Linked DNA regions of Homo sapiens: region 2 is linked to region 1. Evidence: promoter capture Hi-C in human tissues and cell types (Jung and others, 2019). All regions are on one chromosome and are shown on one strand. Each heading gives the region's core, a stretch centred on a gene start or on the middle of the fragment in contact. The rest is flanking DNA. Distances are from core to core; before and after follow the strand shown. Region 1 holds the start of KCNA7 (potassium voltage-gated channel subfamily A member 7). Region 2 overlaps TEAD2 (TEA domain transcription factor 2).

Region 1 (4,765 bases), core at 66-2,565:
CATCTCTACTAAAAATACAAAAATTAGCCGGGCGTGGTGGCCTGCACCTGTAATCCCAGCTACTTGGGAGGCTAAGGCAGGAGAATCGCTTGAACCCGGGAGGCAGACCTTGCAGTGAGCCGAGATAGCGCCATTGCACTCCAGCCTGGGCGACAGAGCAAGACTCTGTCTCACAGGAAATAAAAAAAAAAAGACCTTCTCTGCAAGCCGAGCCCTAGGCCCCCTCCTCTGGCCCCTCAACCTGGCTTTCTTTCCATAGATTCCTCCTACTGTCGCCCCTCGGGCTCCAGCACCCTCAGCTGGAGTTATTCAGGGCCTGGCTTTCACCACCCAGCCGCACAGACTCCGGAGTTTTCAGGCTCTCCTTGGCCCCCCTCAGCTGTGATTTTTAAGGTTCCTGTCCTCCTACCCCTTGCATCAAGGGCCCTGCCCTCTTCACGCCGGGTTTCTCACTGACCTCAACCCCACCTTCTGATGGGGCAGGTCCTCCGACCCGGATCCTCAGGCCCCGCCTCCCGCCCACCCTGTCTTCGGCTGGCCCACCCCTCGCAGCCCCTGGCCCCGCCTTATGATTGGCCAGGTCCCCTCTGGACCCCGCCCATCTCCTCCCAAACCCCGCCCGTCTCCACCCACGCCCCGCCTCTCACCGGGCCGGCTGCGGCTGCAGCAGCAAGCCCCGTGCCGTCGCGGTCGTCGCGGAAGTCAGGCAGCGTCTCGAGGCAGAAGACGACGATGGAGACGAGGATGACCAGCACGGAGACTACGGCGAGCACGCGCGCGGCCTGAGAGCTCTCGGGAAACTCGAAAAGCAGCCACAGCTGGCGGGCGAAGGCGCGGCGGGGCAGGGGGCGCTCGGGCGGCACCGGGCAGCCCTCGTCCTCGCGCAGGCGTGCCAGGGCCGCCGCGCCCAGCCCGTAGAAGGCCACCTCTTCCAGGAAGACGTCGAGCGGCACGTGCGCCGGCCGCCGCAGCCGCCCACCGGACTGGTAGTAGTAGAGCACGGCGTCGAAGCTGGGCCGGTGCCGGTCGAAGAAATACTCGCGGCGCGCGTCGTCGTAGAAGCGGCCGCGGCGCGCTGGGTCCCCTAGCAGAGTGTCCGGGAAGCGGCCCAGCGTGCGCGCCCGCGTCTCGAAGCGCAGCCCGGCCACGTTGAGCACCAGCCGCTCGCAGCAGCCGCACGGCGGCGGGCACCGCGGCTCCATGGCGCGCGCAGCCCCGGCGACCCGCGAACCGACGTGTGGCCCCGACGCCCGGCCCCGGTGCGGCCCCGCCTCGGCCGCCTCGGCCGCCGCCGCCGCCGCCCCAGCCCGGTGTCCGGTGTCCGGTGTCCGCGCGTAAAAATAGCCCGGCAGGGCGGCTAGGGCGCGAGGGAGGGGGCACTGTGACCCCGGCGGGGCGGAGGGCGACAGGGCGACCGCGCGCCCTCTGCCGGGACGCCCGCCCTGCCCTGCCCCGCCGCCGCCGCCGCCCGCGCCTGCTCTGCGCCTTTCCCGTCCCGGGGTCCCCTTTCTCTCCGTCCTTCTGCCGCCGGGATCCTGTCCTGCGTCTCTCCAAGTTTCCGTGTGCGTGTGTTTCGTCAGAATCAGGCTTCAGTTGCAGTCGCCTCTTTTCTTTTCTCTTTCTTCTTTCTTTCTGTCTTTTTTTTTTTTTTTTTTTTTGAGACACAGTTTCCCTCTGTCGCCCGGGCTGGAGTGCAGTGGCGCGATCTCGGCTCACTGCAACAACCTCCACCTCCCGGGATCAAGCGATTCTCGTGCCTCAGCCTCCCTAGTAGCTGGAATTACAGGCGCCACCAAGCCCAGCTAATTTTTTTTCTTTTTTCTTTTTTAGTTGAGAAGGGGTTTCACCATGTTGGCCAGGCAGGTCTGGTACTCCCGACCTCAAGTGATCTGCCCTCCTTGGCCTCCCGAATTGCTGGGGTTACAAGCGTGAGCCACGGCGCCCGGCCTGGAGTCGCCCTGTTTGCACCTTTGTCTCTCACTCTCTTGTGTGTCTGTGTCCGGCTGTCCCCTCTGGGTCTCTGTCTCTTTTGGGATGTATCTCTGAGTATCTCTATGGGTCATTTATTTCTGAGATTCGTCGTTCTGGGGGCCTCTGTATGGGTCCCTCTGCCAGCCTCTACGTCTCGGTCTCCGCCTTTATTTTGACTCTTGGTCTGTCTCCGTTTATCTCTTGTCTCTCTTGGTCTCTTTGTCTCTCCTCTCTAGGTCTCTTTTTGCTCATTATCTCTTAGCCCTCCATGTCTCTGTCTCAGGGTTCCTCGGCCGCTCCCCTTTGGGTCTCCCCTTGGGGTCTCTAGAGGACTTAGGGTCTCCGGAGTCATATCTCTTGATCTCTCCCTGACCATCACTCCATGTGGGTGCTGCCACAGTCCCGGTGGCTGTCCCATCCTAGGGTCACTCTGGCAGCTGCAAACCACTGAGCATGTGCACACACGCCCCATTCTCTCCCCAGAGTTCGCTCCAGAGTCTCCACCTGGATTCTTCGCAAGACTTTCTGAGACCTAGCAGGACCTGAGCTGCGGCTATGACTCTGGCAAAAGGAGTCTGGTCTTGCCGGAACGGGCGGGGGTTGGGGGTGTGGGCCGGGGAGATGCCACAGGGTCATTTTCAGGAACTGAAGGGCGCAGAGACAAGACGGTGGCCTTCTAGCCACTGGTGTCCGGTGACACTGCATAAAAATAGCTCCATCAGATGGGCTTGGGGGAAGTGGAGGGGTTTGATCACTGAGACTCCCAGGAAAGAAGTCCTGGTCGCCCTCTGCTGGGGGTGTGGAGAGAGGTAGGTACTAAGGGTTCGAACGCCCTGCTAATCCTGGCACTCTTTCTCTTCCTGTCTTCCTTCCTTCCATTCCTTCTCTCTTCTTTTCTTCTTTCTTTCTTTCTTTTTTTTTTTTTCTTGAGAGGAGTTTCCCTCTTGTTGTCCAGGCTAGAGTGTGGGGACGTGATCTCAGCTCACTGCAACCTCCGCCTGCCAGTTTCAAGCGATTCTCCTGCCTCAGTCTCCTGAGTAGCTGGGACTCCAGGCACCCGTCACCACACCCACCTAATTTTTGTATTTTTAGTAGAGACAGGGTTTCACCATGTTGGCCAGGCTGGTCTCGAACTCCTGACCTCGTGACCGCCTGCCTTGGCCTCCCAAAGTTCTGGGATTACAGACGTGAGCCACTGCACCCGGCCTTTTCTTTCTTTTTCTTTTTCTTGAGACGGAGTCTTGCAGTCGCCCAGGCTAGAGTGCAGTGTTGCGATCTTGGCTCACTGCAACCTCCGCCTCCTGAATTCAAGCAATTCTCCTGCCTTAGCCTCTGGAGTAGCTGGGATTACAGGCGCCCACCACACGCGGCTAATTGTTTGTGGGCGGCAAGCCACCCAGGTGCCGAGGCAAGAGACCGAGGGCACGAGCTGTTCCAGTATAATAAAATATATAAAATAAGAATAGTTATAGTAGATATAGATCATAGATATGATTATATATGAATATCATTAATCATTAGTTTGTAGCAATTACTCTTTATTCCAATATTATAATAATCCTCGCTCTACAATCATAACCTAGGAAAAACCAGGCCATACAGAGATAGGAGCTGAGGGGACATAGCGAGAAGTGACCAGAAGACAAGAGTGCGAGCCTTCTGTTATGCCTGGACAGGGCCACCAGAGGGCTCCTTGGTCTAGCGGTAACACCAGCGTCTGGGAACACGCCCGTTGCCAAGTGGACCATGGTCTAGTGGTAGCCTCAGTGCCAAGGAAAACCACCCGCTACTTAGCAGACCAGGAAAGGGAGTCTCTCTTTCCCTGGGGGAGTTTAGAGAAGACTCTACCCCTCCACCTCTTGTGGAGGGCCTGACATCAGTCAGGCTCACCCGCAGTTACCCAGAGGCCTAACCATCTCCCTGTGATGCTGTGCTTCAGCTCCTAGTCCGCTTTCATGTTCCATCCTGTACACCTGGCTCTGCCTTCTAGATAGCAGTAGCAAATTAGTGAAAGTACTAAAAGTCTCTGATATGCAGAAATAATGGCGTAAGCTGTCTCTCTTTCTCCTCTCTCTCTGCCTCGGCTGCCAGGCAGGGAAGGGCTCCCTGTCCAGTGGATACGTGACCCAGGGGACCTTACCTATCCTTGGAGATGTCTCACACTCCTCACCCTGCCTCTTTGTCTTATATCCAATAAATATCAGCACAGCCAGGCATTCGGGGCCACTACCGGTCTCTGTGTCTTGGTGGTGGTGGTTCCCCGGGCCCAGCTGTCTTTTCTTTTATCTCTTTGTCTTGTGTCTTTATTTCCACAATCTCTCGTCTCTGCAAACGGAGAAAAACCCACCGACCCTGTGGGGCTGGACCCTACAATTGTTGTATTTTTAGTAGAGACAAGGTTTTGCCATGTTGGCCAGGCTGGTCTTGAACTCCTGACTTCAGGTGATCTGCCCGCCTCGGCCTCCCAAAGTGCTGGGATTACAGGCATGAGCCACCTCACCCGGCCCTTTTCTTTTCTTTCTTTCTCTCTCTCTTTCTTTCTTTCTTTATTTTTTGAGACAGGGTCTCAGTCTGTTGCCCAGGCTGGAGTCTAGTGGCACAATCTTGGCTCACTGCAGCCTCGACTTTCTGGGCTCAAACGATCCTCCCACTTCTTTTTTTTTTTTTTTTTTTTGAGACGGAGTTTCGCTCTTGTCACCCAGGCTGGAGTGCAATGGTGCAATCTCGGTTTACCACAGCCTCCGCCTCCCAGGTTCAAGTGATTCTCCTGCCTCAGCCTCTCAAGTAGCTGGGA
Region 2 (4,841 bases), core at 1,333-3,832, 270 kb after region 1:
TCTTGCTCCGTCACCCAGGCAATGTGTGGTGGTACAATCACAGCTCACTGCAGCCTCGACCTCCTGAGCTCAAGTGATCCTCCCATCTCAGCCTCCTGAGTAGCTAGGACCACAGGTGCATGCCACCACATCCAGCTAATATTTTGTATTTTTTGTAGAAACAGGGTTTCACCATGTTGCCCAGGCTGGTCTCCAACTCCTGGGCTCAAGCGATCCTCCCACCTTGGCCTCCGAAAGTGCTGGGATTACAGGCATGAGCCACCGCGTCAGGCTTTCAAAGTTCTCCAAGGGCTGGTTTCTGGAGAAGATCCACCGTCCATCAGCGTTGAAGAAGTCTGGGTCCCCAAAACAGTCTTGGCCCTGTCTCCCCAGTAACCAAAGGAGCCCTGGAATTCAATTTCAACCTTTTTTCTTTTCTTTTTTTTTTTTCTGAGATGAAGTCTCGCTCTTGTTGCCCAGTGCAATGCCGCGATCTTGACTCACTGCAACCTCTGCCTCCCGGGTTCAAGCGATTCTCCTGCCTCAGCCTCCCAAGTGGCTGGGATTACAGGCGCACGCCACCATGTCTGGCTAATTTTTGTATTTTTAGTAGAGACAGGGTTTTGTCATGTTGGCCAGGTTGGTCTCAAACTCCTGAACTCAGGTGATCCACCCACCTAGGCCTCCCAAAGTGCTGAGATTACAGGCATGAGCCACTGTGTCCAGCCAATTCAACCTTTTTCCCTTGAAGCCCGCAACTCAAGAGTTCAGCCCCTTCCAAGGGCCTGGTTACTATGGCAGTTACTTCTTAGCAACCAGTTCAAGATGAATACCTCCCTCTAAGCCCCTCTCACTCTGGTTGCTAAGGCAAGTGGCTACTCCCTAGCAACGGGACCTCACGGAGCCTGAGGAGGCCTGACTCCTCCTCAGAGCACTTCCCCCTCGGCCAAATCTGAGAGGTCAGACTCCCTCCATGACCCCAGTGGCCAAGTGTGTGTAGACAGCTGGCCAAGTGTCACTAGGCCAAGTGGGGCCTAAGGAAGCCTAAGAGCTCATCACACCTTTGGTCTGAGTCACCTCCTTGCGAGGCGCACCTCTTCCTCTTCCTAACTTTAGTTGCTAACACTGTGCCAGGTCCGTCTTCTCAGGGGCCCGACTCCATCTCTCACCGTGGCAAAACCAAAGACCTTACCAGCTGCTCCTCTGAACCCCTTCAGCAGCTGGGCTTCCTAAGGGGGTGGCTCTCCAGTCCTGGGACCTGATAAGGCCTGTCTTAAGCCCCAACAATGTCTAAGCCCTCAGCTGCACATCCCCAGAGCAGTTTCAGGCTTCTGCTTCACATGGCAGAAAGCTCCAGAACCGTGAACAGCAAGCTCCAGAACAACAACACTCCCAGCAAGAACAGTAAAGTTCAGGCCCTCAGCAGGCCTTTCCTTCCTTTCCTTCCTTCCTTCCTTCTTTCTTTCCTTCTTTCTTTTCTTTCCTTTCTTTCCTTCTTCCTTTCTTCCTTTCTTTCTTTCGGCAGGGTCTCATTCTGTCACCCAGGCTGGAGGGCAGTGGCACAATCTTGGCTCACTGCAGCCTCCACCTCCCAGGCTTAAGTGATCCTCCTGCCTCAGCCTCCACAGAAGCTAGGACCACAGGTGCGCACCACCACACCCAGCTAATTTTTTTCATTTTTTGTAGAGTTGAGGTCTCACTGTGTTGCCCAGGCTGGTGTCAAACTCTTGAACACAAGCGAAACTCTCGCCTCAGCTTCCCAAAGTGCTGGGAAGATAGGAGTGAACCACCACACCTAGCCAGGCTTTCTTCTCAGAGACTAGATCCCTCCACCACCTTTGTTACTATAAGAACTAGCACCCCCTAAACATCCAGGCAACATTTATTGAGCCCAGGCCAGGCACTGTGGCTCACACTTGTAATCCCAGCACTTTGGGAGGCCAAGGTGGGTGGATCACTTGAGGTCAGGAGTTCGAGACCAGACTGGCCAACATGGTAAAACCCTGTCTCTACTAAAAATACAAAAATTAGGCCAGGTGCAGTGGCTCATGCCTGTAATCCCAGCACTTGGAGAGGCCAAGGTGAGCGGATCACATGAGGTCAGGAGTTCAAGATCAGCCTGGCCAACATGACGAAACTCCGTCTCTACTAAAAATACAAAAATTAGCTGGGCATGGTCGTGCATGCCTGTAATCCCAGCTACTTGGGAGGCTGAGGCTGGAGAATCGCTTGAACCCAGGAGGCAGAGGTTGCAGTGAGCCGAGATCGCACCATTGCACTCCAGCCTGGGCAACAAGAGCAAAATTCCATCTCAAAAAAAAAAAAAAAAAAAACAATAAAAGAAAATAAAACACATTTATTGAACCCCTGTAGTGTTAGTCATCATACTGGACACCAAACCAAGTAGCCCTAAGAAACACGCAAGATGGGCCCTCTTAGTCCCAATCATATAAATAGCAGCTGACACCAGGCGTCTATATAGGAAGTGCTCAATAAATGATTGCTACATAAATACAGGACTTGGACGGGTGCGGTGGCTCACACCTGTAATCCCAGCACTTTGGGAGGCCAAGGTGGGCAGATCATTTGAGGCCAGGAGTTCAAGACCAGCCTGGCCAACATGGTGAAACCCCGTCTGTACTAAATATACAAAAATTAGCCAGATGTGGTGGCGGGTGCCTGTAGTCCAATCTACTGGGGAGGCTGAGGCAGGAGAATCGCTTGAATCCAGGAGGCGGAGGTTGCCGTGAGCCAAGATACAGCCACTGCACTCCAGCCTGGGTGACAGTGAGACTATGTCTCAAAAATAAATAAATAAACAAATAAATGAATACAGGACTTGGCAAAGCCACTCCATGGCTCTTTTCATCACTTCCTCAAAGCCAGACATTCTCTAGCAACAAGGTCTGGTGAAACTGATGCAAAGCATCAGTCCCCTCTTTAGAAACCAGTCTCCACAAGTCCACTGGCTACGGGGAGGGGTCTTTCCTTAGCAGCACGGCTTGGTGCAGTCAGGTGGGGCACAGGGAAGCCTGGAACATGGCAAGCCCATGCCCAGGACCCTATTAGCTACATGGCCAGGTAACTCACCGTATTAGTTACATGTGGCAATGTCTAGTGGGATCCAGGGAGGCCCAGACACCTCCAACCCACCCTGGGGGCTGGCCTCCTCGGTGTTCCTTGTTGCAAAGGGGGCTGACACTCCAAGCCATGAGGACTGACTGGTAAGTCCCAGGCTGACCTGGTAGGGCCCGCGACAGATTCTCTCAGGGCCAGAGGCCTTTGCTGGGACACCACAGGATTTGTGAGCACTTTTGATTTTGCTGTGAGAACTCACCCAGAACTTGACCAGGAAGAAGGCATGGGGGGGGCCACGATCATATAGCTCTCGGAGGCCACCCTTTTTCTCAGGGAATTTGTCGTAGATCTGCCGGACGTCCACACTCTCGAGCGGCGGCGCTCCGGGGCTGGGGCAGTGCTGGCTGATGTGCACGAACAGGTGCCTCTGGTACTGAGGAGGGTTGGCCGTGGGTGAGAAGTCGGAGGTGAGCTGGATCTCCAGCCTGTGCTGCCTGAGCCCACCAAATGCCGTCACCATCCCCACAGCTCTGGCCAGCTGTTCCACACAGTCCACCCAGCACTGGGCCTGACTGCCACCCATCGTCCCCACTCCTGCTTCTGCACCCAGTCCCCTGCAGCCCTGCAGTCCTACAGTCCCCAACTCCCTGCCACAACTCCCCCAACTCCATCCTCACTGCCTCAGCCTCACCTCAGGCCTCCCACCCTCACCCCAGCCTCCAACCTCGCCTCTCCAGTTCATCCCTCATGTGGCTCCAGACCTGCCCCTGACCCTCCCCTGGTCATGGCCCTCCCATAGCTCCCCAGCAGCCCCAGGGCAAAGCTCACACCCCCTAGGCCTGGTCCTATATAGAACAGGTGCTCATAAATGGTCAATGGATGGAAGAGTGAATGAATGGGAATCCACAGAGGTCTTGTGGTTGATGTTTTGATTGATGTTTATATGGTGTGGCAGAGACTGCTACGTGTTCACAAATCCTGGTTCCTTTACACAGTGTGAAACTACATTTCCCAGGCCGCTTTGCAGTTAGGTGTGACCACATGACTAAGTTCTGGCCAATGGGATGTGACCAGGCCTGAGAGTCGACACATCCAAGTCAGATTCCTAAAACCTCCTGCACAATCTTGACTCTCTCCCTTCCTCCATCTGCTGGCCAGATGCAGAGACTCCATCAGCAGATTCTGAAGCCTTAGAAAATGGCAGAGCCACAAAATGGAAGGAGCCTGGATCCCCAAATCACTTGAGTCCAAGGCTCCTGCTGAACCTACATTGAAATGTTACATGCAACTTATCTGGCATTCAGTCCCTAAGAGTTAGGAGCTGTTTCTTCTAACAGTCGGCCCACTCCATCCTAGCCCAGGAGAAGCTCAAGCACAGAAATAAAATCTTTTCCAAGTTCCTAGTATGCATCACAAAGCCTAGTGAACAGTAGAAACTCAAACACGTTTGATAAATGAATGAATGATGTCCTGGGGAGCTTTTCTGACCTTCCCAACTTGTCACCCTATGACCTTCCAGTTCCTTTATGCTAGTAGTTCTCAAAGTACGGTCCCCAGACCAGCTGCATCAACGCACCTGGTAGCTTATTAGAAATGCAAATTCTCAAGCCCCACATCACATCTAGCAAATCAGAAAGCAATCTCTGTTTTAAGAAGCCCTTCAGATGATTCTGATACATGCTAAAGTTTTAAAACCATGACTTTATACATTCCCTTCCTGTCACCCTCTATATTTCAAAATCCCTCAGCGACTGTACCAAAATTTCACTCACAGAATCAACTGC

Evidence for each region. The method cuts DNA at HindIII sites, captures the fragments that hold promoters and counts their contacts. A contact is called where the count stands out against the background at its distance.
Region 2: a fragment that was not itself captured here is called in contact with the fragment with the promoter of KCNA7 in region 1 in 1 of the 25 tissues and cell types used here (dorsolateral prefrontal cortex).

The regions. Positions count from the first base shown.
Region 1 is chr19:49,071,384-49,076,148 of GRCh38, forward strand. KCNA7 (potassium voltage-gated channel subfamily A member 7) reads right to left here and starts at 1,316. Exons shown (of 2, transcript NM_031886.3): 1 at 648-1,316. The coding sequence starts at 1,202. RefSeq lists enhancers at 207-708, 709-1,208 and a silencer at 2,675-2,834. The HindIII fragment of the contact is 9,200 bases long and covers 1-1,426 here.
Region 2 is chr19:49,343,874-49,348,714 of GRCh38, forward strand. TEAD2 (TEA domain transcription factor 2) reads right to left here. Exons shown (of 13, transcript NM_001256660.2): 9 at 4,830-4,841; 10 at 3,317-3,490. Among named protein-coding and RNA genes, the nearest start is that of CD37, 11 kb to the left of the region's middle. The HindIII fragment of the contact is 5,882 bases long and covers 1-4,841 here.